3 separate regions of the Homo sapiens genome follow, and all the other regions are linked to region 1. The links are contacts of gene promoters, found by promoter capture Hi-C in human tissues and cell types (Jung and others, 2019). All regions are on one chromosome and are shown on one strand. Each heading gives the region's core, a stretch centred on a gene start or on the middle of the fragment in contact. The rest is flanking DNA. Distances are from core to core; before and after follow the strand shown.

Region 1 (3,016 bases), core at 343-2,842:
TGCGACCTACAGGGTGCGATGGGTGGGCACTGGTGAGAAATGACCTTGGACTTCGAACACGACCAGCATTTTTTTCCCAGGTAGACCCATTTTCACGGTGTTCCACTAACACCACCACACCCTGCTGGTCACCAGCCCCCTGGGTTAGAAGAGGCCACTGGAAAGTGAACAGCCTGCTGAAATTAAAGAGTTTTCATAAATGTGCAATTGGGTCCCACCAAGCTATTTAAAACCCATATGCATGGAACTAGTTTTCACGTTTGTATAAGACAGTCTGTAAAAGCAGAAGAGGGATGTGCATTTTCAATACATTGCCAACTTCATGTATGGAACTGAAAGACATCTGAGGTGGTGGGAGCTTCCATTATTGTTTGAATTACCATTAGGATAGATGTAAATAAGAAAAGGCTCTCTGCTGTTTTACCCAATCAAATCAATGTTCCGCTCACCTTTCATGCACCCTGGGAACCTGGCATTGAACGCTTTCTCAAAATCCTCCTCTGACATCCAGCGACCGAGCTGGCTGAGGCCTGTTTTGGGGATGGGCACTGTGTCTCTTTGCTCTTGGGTGACGATAACCGTCTTGCTTTCGATCCTGGCCACATCCCTGGGGTCAGTGAGAGCCAACCAGCTGCAAAAATCACAGGCTTCCTTTCAGCCAAGCACCACGGGCAGCGAACCATCTCCTTCAGTACCGTGGCTTTCCATGCCTAGCAGAGTGCTGAGCACGCTAACAACAGTCCATCAGTGTGAACACACAGACCATCTAAGACATGGCCAGGTGGACATTTACTCCACTAGGACCTGGTCTGTAGGAGAGGGGCTGCCTTTTTTTTAATCAGGAATCTAGTTGGCAGAGCTTTTGTGCACACACCTCATTTAAAGCTTGGGCTGGCCCACTAATGTCACAAAATTCAAGTCTGTATGGTTCTGACCATTGCATTCATCTTCTCAAGAGTCTGAAACTACCCGAAGGCCTTCATTCACCTTTCTCCACCAACTCCCAGGAGACGCAGGGGAGCCCTGCCTGCAGGGTGCTGGGACAGGCAGCGGGGGCCGAGCTTACCAGTTGTCATACTTCTTCAGCCGCCTGAGGATGCCCTCTTCCTCCATCTGGCCCAGAAGCCGCCCATTCTCCTCCTCAGAGCCGTCACAGATGTGGATGTGATCAGGCTGACACAGCTCAGCGTTATTCTCGAGAAACTCCCTCACTGCCTGGGGTAGGCTGTCCAGGCTTCCCTGGACAACTTTGGCCGAGAGGTTCAGGCCGTTTTGCAGCTGAGGAGGCATTTCTGCAGAGTGCTGCTAAGGGGCACGAATGTGAGGTCACCTGAAATAGAAAACGCAAGCGTCCTGAACAAAAACAACAACAGACACCTTCAAACACATTCGACGGCCTTTTGCCAGGGCTGTGCATTGCCAAATAGTTATTGCTCTCAGGAAAAAAATGAGTTCATCTTTGTAATTTTTCAAAATGTAAATGCAAAGCTCTACTTACCTTTCTTCTCTTTGGATGATCTCGAAGGGAGATCCACAGGTTTCTTTCCGGGCTCTTCCCGCCAGCAAGTTTGTGTTCCCAGTGGGAAGGCCGTGCTTGGTGGCAGAACCTCCCAGCTTTAAATACTGTGGAAAAGAATAGCCCTGCCCCTCAGCTGCACCCAGGGAGGCTCGCCACTGACGTCAGGGGGCAGGTCTCTGGATCACGGCCAGGGTCAGTTATGCTTTGGGCCAACTCACTGCAACACGCCCCAGGGAGATAATCATTGAACAGATAGTTGTTAATGAATGCTGGGAGACTTCGAGCCCTCAACCAACCATAGTGAGTTTTGACACAACTTCCAACTGACTAAACCTTGACCCATTTTACTGCTGTTGCAAAACACAACACCCTTTTCTTAACAGGCAGGTGGGTCAAGGACAAGGTTGGCCGGGGCACCTGCTAGCAGCACATTTTGTGTACCAAGAGCTGCTGGTTGGCAAAACACCACAGCTATAAGATGTCACCCCATAGTCAAAGGTCACAGTCAAAGTTCATGGGAAGGATGCACCCTAACTTGGGCAAATATGTGGCTTATTGGCAAAGATTGGAAATGCCTAACCTAACTGGGGGCTAATCACTGTATTGATTGTCTGCTCTGTGCCGCCCCCGCCCCCTGCCCCGATGTAAACTCCATGAGGGCAGGGATTTCTCCCTATTTTGTTCATTTTTCTCTCTGTAGTGCTTGGCATAGAGTAGGCACAGGATGCACACATGCTGAGCACTGTTCTAAGAGCTTGGCATCATTACTACCCTCTGAGGTGGAGGCTATGAACAACCCATGTACAGATAGGGAAACTGAGGCAGAGATTGTGTAGCCACTCACAGCCGGCTGGTGGGTTGCAGAGTGAGGATCTGAACATGAGCAAGTTGGGCCCTGGAGCACCACGTCTCTCCCTGTGAGGTACCGCCACCTTTCCAGAACCTTCCCTGTGTCCTCCAGGGAGTTCTGGGCTGAGTGCAGTTACTCCTGCAGTCCACTGGCCACTGTTCTCTTCCCTGGCAAGTCTTAGAGTTTAGGGAGTGGAGGGGGCTTGGCAGTTTTGCTAGATTATATGCTTAAGCAATGAAACCTTTATAACAGTTGTAAAGAATTTGCTTTGCAAGCCATCAGACCTTCAGTCAAATTTAATGAGCTATGGAAGCTGCTTGCTGGAGTTTGGAGAACACAGGGTGAAATGTCAAAAGAACGGGGCTAGGTCTCAACCCCCCACAGCCAGCCCACACTTCCATGGAAGCCTCTCTACCTAAGATGAGGTCAGGTGGGGACTTGGCCCATCTCCCCGCTGGGGTGTGGGATGATCCCTGAGATAATCCCAGGACTGGGCTTAGAAAGAGCTGCTGTGGCAAATACAAGTCACTGTGAATGGCAGCCTCCGACCAAACTCACTTAGAGAACCCTCCTGGGGGCTTGGGTCACACTGTGTTGGGCGTGGGTCACACATCATCAAGTTCCACCAAAATTATCAACCCATTGCT
Region 2 (3,016 bases), core at 247-2,746, 53 kb before region 1:
CCAGCCCTGCACACAGGAGGTACTCTGCAGAACACTAACAATTATAATAGAAAATCATCATGATGGAGACAGCAATGACGCCATGGTCCCAATCACAGAACATATGCAGTCCCACCAGCCCCCCTTTTCTAGCTTTACAGCCCACAGCCAGAAGGAGCTGCCATTTATCATGCACTTAAGATTAGCCAGGCACTGTTTTGGGGTTCACCCAGCCCTCACACAACCCCAGGAGGCAAAGGAGGCTGAGCCCCGGAGAAGTTAATCGGCAGGAAGCCGCAGCTGCCAGGGCGCAGGCAGGATTTGAAGTCAAGTGTGTTGAACTCTGGAGTCTGAGTTTGCAACTACCGGCATTGCCACTTACCCCTAGGGAGCTGCCCACCTTTGTGGGGTGGAGGCCTGGTGCTGTCTTCTGTCCCCCACCCCTCTGACCCATCTTTCTTTCTGCAGCCGAGAGGCCCCAGCAACATGCAGCTACAATTCCAGAGACCCCTGGCCCTCAGTTCAGCCAACAACGGGGTAAGTTTTTGCATGTCCCTTCAGTTCCCGGGACACAGGATCCCACTCCCCAGGAACCCCAGGCCCTCCTTGAGGGTACAAGATCTCACCAGTGTTCAGGGGCCCTGTCCCACCCACCAGGCAGCTCCCATACAGTGTTCAGAGCCAAGACCCAGCCCTCACAGTGGGAGAATCTGAATGGCTGAGCAGTGATTTCTCCAGTCAGACAATAGCTGACCCTCACCATGCACCCGCCACATGCCAGGCCCAGCGCAGAGCACTCTGTGCACATCCCCCACCCTCAGGGCACCTCTGCGGTGCGTCATGATGACCCCGTTATCATGACACCCATTTTACAGATGAGGAAACCAGGCCTTGAGGGGCTGGGTCCAGGGCCACACAGCTAGGAAGCGGTGGGGCAGATGCAAACCCTAGGACTACTCCCTAACCACCTGGCCATCCTGCCTCCCAGAGGAAGACATCTACAGGTTTCTCAAAGACAATGGTCCCCAGAGGGCCCTGGTCATCGCCCAAGCACTGGGAATGAGGACAGCAAAAGATGTGAACCGAGACTTGTACAGGATGAAGAGCAGGCACCTTCTGGACATGGATGAGCAGTCCAAAGCATGGACGATTTACCGCCCAGGTAGGCCCCCGGCTGCCTGTGTCTGGGCTGCAGAGGGAAACCATGACACTAGTGCTTGGTCTTTGCTGGGTGCTCTGCTGAGCAGCTCACCGGAAACTGCTAGAAGCTTCTGGAGGTCCTACCGACAATTCACTGCAAGGGCTTCCAGGAGGAAGGGGTGTGCTGGCAAGATTAACCAGGGACAGCTTTTTGGAGGCGTGGCCCAAGGTCTGCAGTTGCAGAAGGCCAGTGAATGGGACGGAGGTGGCCCATTCCCAATGTTCTCAGCTCTGGGGTGCAGGGATCAGTCTGAGTTTGGGAATGGTTTTCTTTGAGCACTTTGCTCAAGTTGGGGTTTAAAAGTTGGCAGAAGAGAAGGCAAGACTAGTCTTGGACCCCTACCGGCTGGAGCCCCAGGGTCAGCGCAGGGTCAGCTTCCCCGTGAGACCTAACACACACAGGGCCAAGATCCAATAGGTGCATGGCATTCTCAGGGGTCCTTGAAAATGTTTTAATTTTAATTTCATTTAAAATCAGAGGAAATGAATACTACAATAATAATGAATATCTAAAAATGGGCCAGGCACGGTTGCTCACGCCTGTAATCCTAGCACTTTGGGAGGCTGAGGCGGGCAGATCACCTGAGGTCAGGAGTGACCAGTCTGGCCAACATGGCGAAACCCCGTCTCTACTAAAAATACAAAAATTAGCCAGGTGTGGTGGTGGGCGCCTGTAATCCCAGCTACTCGGGAGGCTGAGGTAAGAGAATAGCTTGAACCTAGGAGGCAGAGGTTGCACTGAGCTGAGATCGCGCCATTGCACTCCAGCCTGGGCAACAAAAGCAAAACTCTGTCCCCCAAAAAATAAAATAAAATAAAATTTAAAAATCCAGCCTGGGTTATCCTTGCTATACAATGTAATTTAAATATTTGTGTATGGGGGAAGGGCCCACAAAGGCACAGGAGCTGAGACCCTGGAGGGTGGTGATGGGCCCCGCACAGTCTGGGCAGGTGCCTGCCTCAACCTCTGCAGGGCTGACTCTGCTACTCATGACGGGTGCCCGAGGGGGTCTCAGCATCCTAGGGCTGCTGTGAGGAAGGAATAACGCGTGACAGCCACCAGATTTTAAACACTAGTGACAAATTCAAATATTGAAAATGTCATGGGAGCCAAACACGACCGATCTGGCCCAATGGGCTGCTGTTTCTCGGCCATTACTCAAGGGAAAAGGGCAATGGTGCAGGTGCTCGGGGGTCCGGGCTGTGGCTGCCCCCTAGGGAGAGCAGTGTGGGGCCCCTGCGGTCCTCCCAGCCAGCAATCATGGCGGCCCAGCCATGGAGGCAGCAAAAGACACAGGTAGGGTGACTCACAGTGGCTATTTTCAAGTGAGGCTCCCTCTGAGGTACCTGTGGTGTCTGTTAAACACCCAGCTCTGGCCTCCCACTTGGCCCTACTGACTCGGAACGCCCAGGGTATTTTAACAAGCTCCCCAGGAGAATTTGGTGCTGCCGACTGGTATTGGGAACCCCTGACCCATAGACAGTGGCAAAGGGATACAGTTGAATATTATTTTGCAGAAGATTCTGGAAGAAGAGCAAAGTCAGCCTCAATTATTTACCAGCACAATCCAATCAACATGATCTGCCAGAATGGACCCAACAGCTGGATTTCCATTGCAAACTCCGAAGCCATCCAGATTGGACACGGGAACATCATTACAAGACAGACAGTCTCCAGGGAGGACGGTAAGTCACCCAAGAGAGCCCAGGGAGGGGACCTCGGTGGGGAGCCACCGGATCCTCTGGGTGGGGGCAAAGGGTAGGGATGGGGAGTGGGGGGATTCTGCCCTCCAAGGGGAAAGGGTTGCTTCCAGACCCCCACAGTCCACCTTTACGG
Region 3 (3,016 bases), core at 309-2,808, 54 kb after region 1:
TCGAGAAAACCCTTTGAACTAGACAAGCTGCTTTCTTCCCCTTCCCTCTTAGGAACGTCATATGACCGCTCACATTCGTACCCACACTGGAGAGAAACCATTCACCTGCCTTTCTTGCAATAAATGTTTCCGACAGAAGCAACTTCTAAACGCTCACTTCAGGAAATACCACGATGCAAATTTCATCCCGACTGTTTACAAATGCTCCAAGTGTGGCAAAGGCTTTTCCCGCTGGGTAAGCTTACTTAAGTCACAGTAAATCCCCCATGGAAAGATCCCTCTATCTCAGGAGGACAGTGTCACACCAGGAGAGTTTAAACCCGATTATAGAAACCTGCCAGGACTTCAGGAGCATCTGTCATGCCTTAGGAAAGTGGTTATTAGTTTTTTAAAATCACAAAATTCTTGAAGAATCCTATGAAAGTGTGGTCTCCTCATCCCCTAAAAAAAAAAAAAAGGACAATCCAACACACAAAATCTTACAATAGGGAGTTATCAGACTCCCCAAAGAACCCCACCTTTTAGTGTAATATTTTCAAACAGTGAACTAGATTTAGGCTACTTGACAGAGAGAATGCAGTTTTCACACATTTTTTCAGATGTCCCTAGAATAATGTTATTGGTGTCTATAATCCCAGCTACTTGAGAGGCCAAGGTGGGAGGATTACTTGAGGCCAGGAGTTTGAGATCAGCCTGGGCAACACAGGGAGACCCCCATCCCTCCAAAAAAATTAGCTGGTTGTGGTGGTGCACCCCTGTAGGCCTAGCTGCTCAGGAGGCTGAGACAGGAGGACCACTTGAGCCCAGGAGTTGGAGGCTACAGTGAGTCACGATCGCACCACTGCACTCTGGCCTCAAAGACAGAGTGAGACCCTGTCTCTAAAATAACTTTTTTAATTAAAAAAAAAAGAATAGTGCTGTTGGTACTGGACTAAGCAATACATTTATGGTTTTATTCTTTTAGGTGTTGTATTAGTTATCTATTTCTGTATGACAGATTACCTCAAAATGGAGTGGCTTAAAACCACAAACATTTATCACCTGACAGATTCTCTGGGTTGGGAACTCGGAAGTGGCTGAACTGGGTGGTCCTGGCTCAGGGCCACTCCTGAGGCTGCAGTCAGGATGTCCGCCAGGGCTGCATCATCCGAAGGCTGGACTGGGGCCAGAGGATCCACTTCCAGGACAGCTCCGCCACACAACTGCTGGCACCGGCCTCAGTTCCTTGCTACAGGGACCTCTCTGCAGGGCTGCTTGAGTGTCCTCCTGACTCAGAGCAAGTGAGAGAGTGCAAGTAGGAAGCCATGGTGCCTTTTGCAGTCTAGTCCTAAAAGCGGCACAACAGCCAGCTGTGGGGGCTCACACCTGTAATCCCAGTACTTCGGGAGGCCAAGGCAGGTGGATAACTTGAGGCCAGGAGCTCAAGACCAGCCTGGCCAACATGGTGAAACCCTGTCTCTACTTTAAAAAAAAAAAAAGAAAATAGCTAGGCGTGGTAGTGCACGCTTGTAATCCCAGCTACTTGGGTGGTTGGGACGGGAGGATCACTTGAACCCAGGAGACAGAGGTTGCAGTGAGCTGAGATTGTGCCACTGGCCTCCAGCCTGGGCGACAGAGCAAGACTCTGTCTCAAAAAAAAAAAAAAAGTGGCACATTCTAGTCACAAGAAATGAACCATGAAGTCCCACCCACACTCGAGTGGGGAATGAAGTTTCTTTTGAAAGGAACAGCATCAAAGAATTTCAGGACATTTAAAAACCACTGCACATGGCTAGCTAGATCCTTGGACCATGTAGGCTTCAGCCTAACTTTATAAAAGTTTTATAAAAGTTGAATTTCCTGAAGTTGACTATTTTTTTAAAAATATTTCTTCTTAAAACAGTAGTGTAGTTGTGTTTTTCTGAGTAGCACAGTGGGATAGTTCTGGAATGTCAACCCTATTAGTTTAAAATTTCAAATAAAAGCTGTGGCAGTGCTCCCAAAACACCATTGCTCATGCAAAAATTGTGAAGAGTTAAAATTAACGAGTAGAATTCTAAAGAGAAAAAAACTGCTCTTTGGTGCAAGAAATAAAAATGTAGAGAAAAGAACAAGTCTGCCTCATGCAGTCCCTCAGAACATAAAATTTTTGAAATTCCGATTCAAGAAAGCATATTTGGACTTGTGTCTAAAATATAAAAAGAACTCTTATAACTCAGTAAATAGACAGATACCCAATGAAAAACAGGTAAAGTATCTAGGCCAGGCGCGGTGGTTCACACCTGTAATCCCAGCACTTTGGGAGGCAGAGGCAGGTGGATCACAAGGTCAGCAGTTCAAGACCAGCCTGGCCAAAATGATGAAACCCCATCTCTACTACAAATACAAAAATTAGCTGGGCATGGTGGCACATGCCTGTAATCCTAGCTGCTCAGGAGGCTGAGGCAGGAGAATTGCTTGAACCCAGGAGGTGGAGGTTGCAGTGAGCTGAGACTGTGCCACTACAGTCCAGCCTGGGCAACAGAGCGAGACTGTCTCAGGAAAAAAACAAAACAAAACAGTTAAAGTATCTAAATAGACCTTTCTCCAAAGAAGACATACAGGTGGCCAGTAAGCGTAGCGTCATTAATCACCAGGGCAACGCAAATCAGTTTCTGCCACGACTTCTTGAGTCTGCCCTTGTGTCATGGAAGCAGCTGTGGATGCAGTGTGTAAATGAATAGACATGGCTGTGTTCCAGTAAAACTTGCTTTCACAAACAGTTGGCAGCCAGATTTGACCCACTGGTTGTCGTTTGCCAACCCCAGTGTCTAAGCATAAAATGGAAGAAGTTTAAACAACCTGTTCCATCACCCCCATTATGTGTAAATTCTTCCTTCTTCCATCATAAACGCAGACAGTCCTGTTAAGCACAGTGGGAAAGTCAAAATGGGAATCAGGCGGGATGTTTCGCATAATTTGCAAATTTCAACACCTGTTGCCAGTTTTTTTACTTTTGCCTAGGACCTTTTCAAAAAGTGAAAATTTTCTGACTTAA

Evidence for each region. The method cuts DNA at HindIII sites, captures the fragments that hold promoters and counts their contacts. A contact is called where the count stands out against the background at its distance.
Region 2: a contact is called between a fragment that was not itself captured here and the fragment with the promoter of PCK1 in region 1, in 1 of the 25 tissues and cell types used here (psoas muscle).
Region 3: a fragment that was not itself captured here is called in contact with the fragment with the promoter of PCK1 in region 1 in 4 of the 25 tissues and cell types used here (aorta, mesendoderm cells, neural progenitor cells and 1 more).

The regions. Positions count from the first base shown.
Region 1 is chr20:57,559,686-57,562,701 of GRCh38, reverse strand. PCK1 (phosphoenolpyruvate carboxykinase 1) reads right to left here and starts at 1,592. Exons shown (of 10, transcript NM_002591.4): 1 at 1,499-1,592; 2 at 1,067-1,330; 3 at 450-631; 4 at 1-6. The coding sequence starts at 1,290. The HindIII fragment of the contact is 15,943 bases long and covers 1-3,016 here.
Region 2 is chr20:57,613,012-57,616,027 of GRCh38, reverse strand. It overlaps ZBP1 (Z-DNA binding protein 1), which reads left to right. Exons shown (of 8, transcript NM_030776.3): 3 at 448-516; 4 at 968-1,141; 5 at 2,698-2,865. Among named protein-coding and RNA genes, the nearest start is that of ZBP1, 5.9 kb to the left of the region's middle. The HindIII fragment of the contact is 3,943 bases long and covers 1-3,016 here.
Region 3 is chr20:57,505,825-57,508,840 of GRCh38, reverse strand. It overlaps CTCFL (CCCTC-binding factor like), which reads left to right. Exons shown (of 11, transcript NM_001386993.1): 9 at 53-235. Among named protein-coding and RNA genes, the nearest start is that of CTCFL, 18 kb to the left of the region's middle. The HindIII fragment of the contact is 6,086 bases long and covers 1-3,016 here.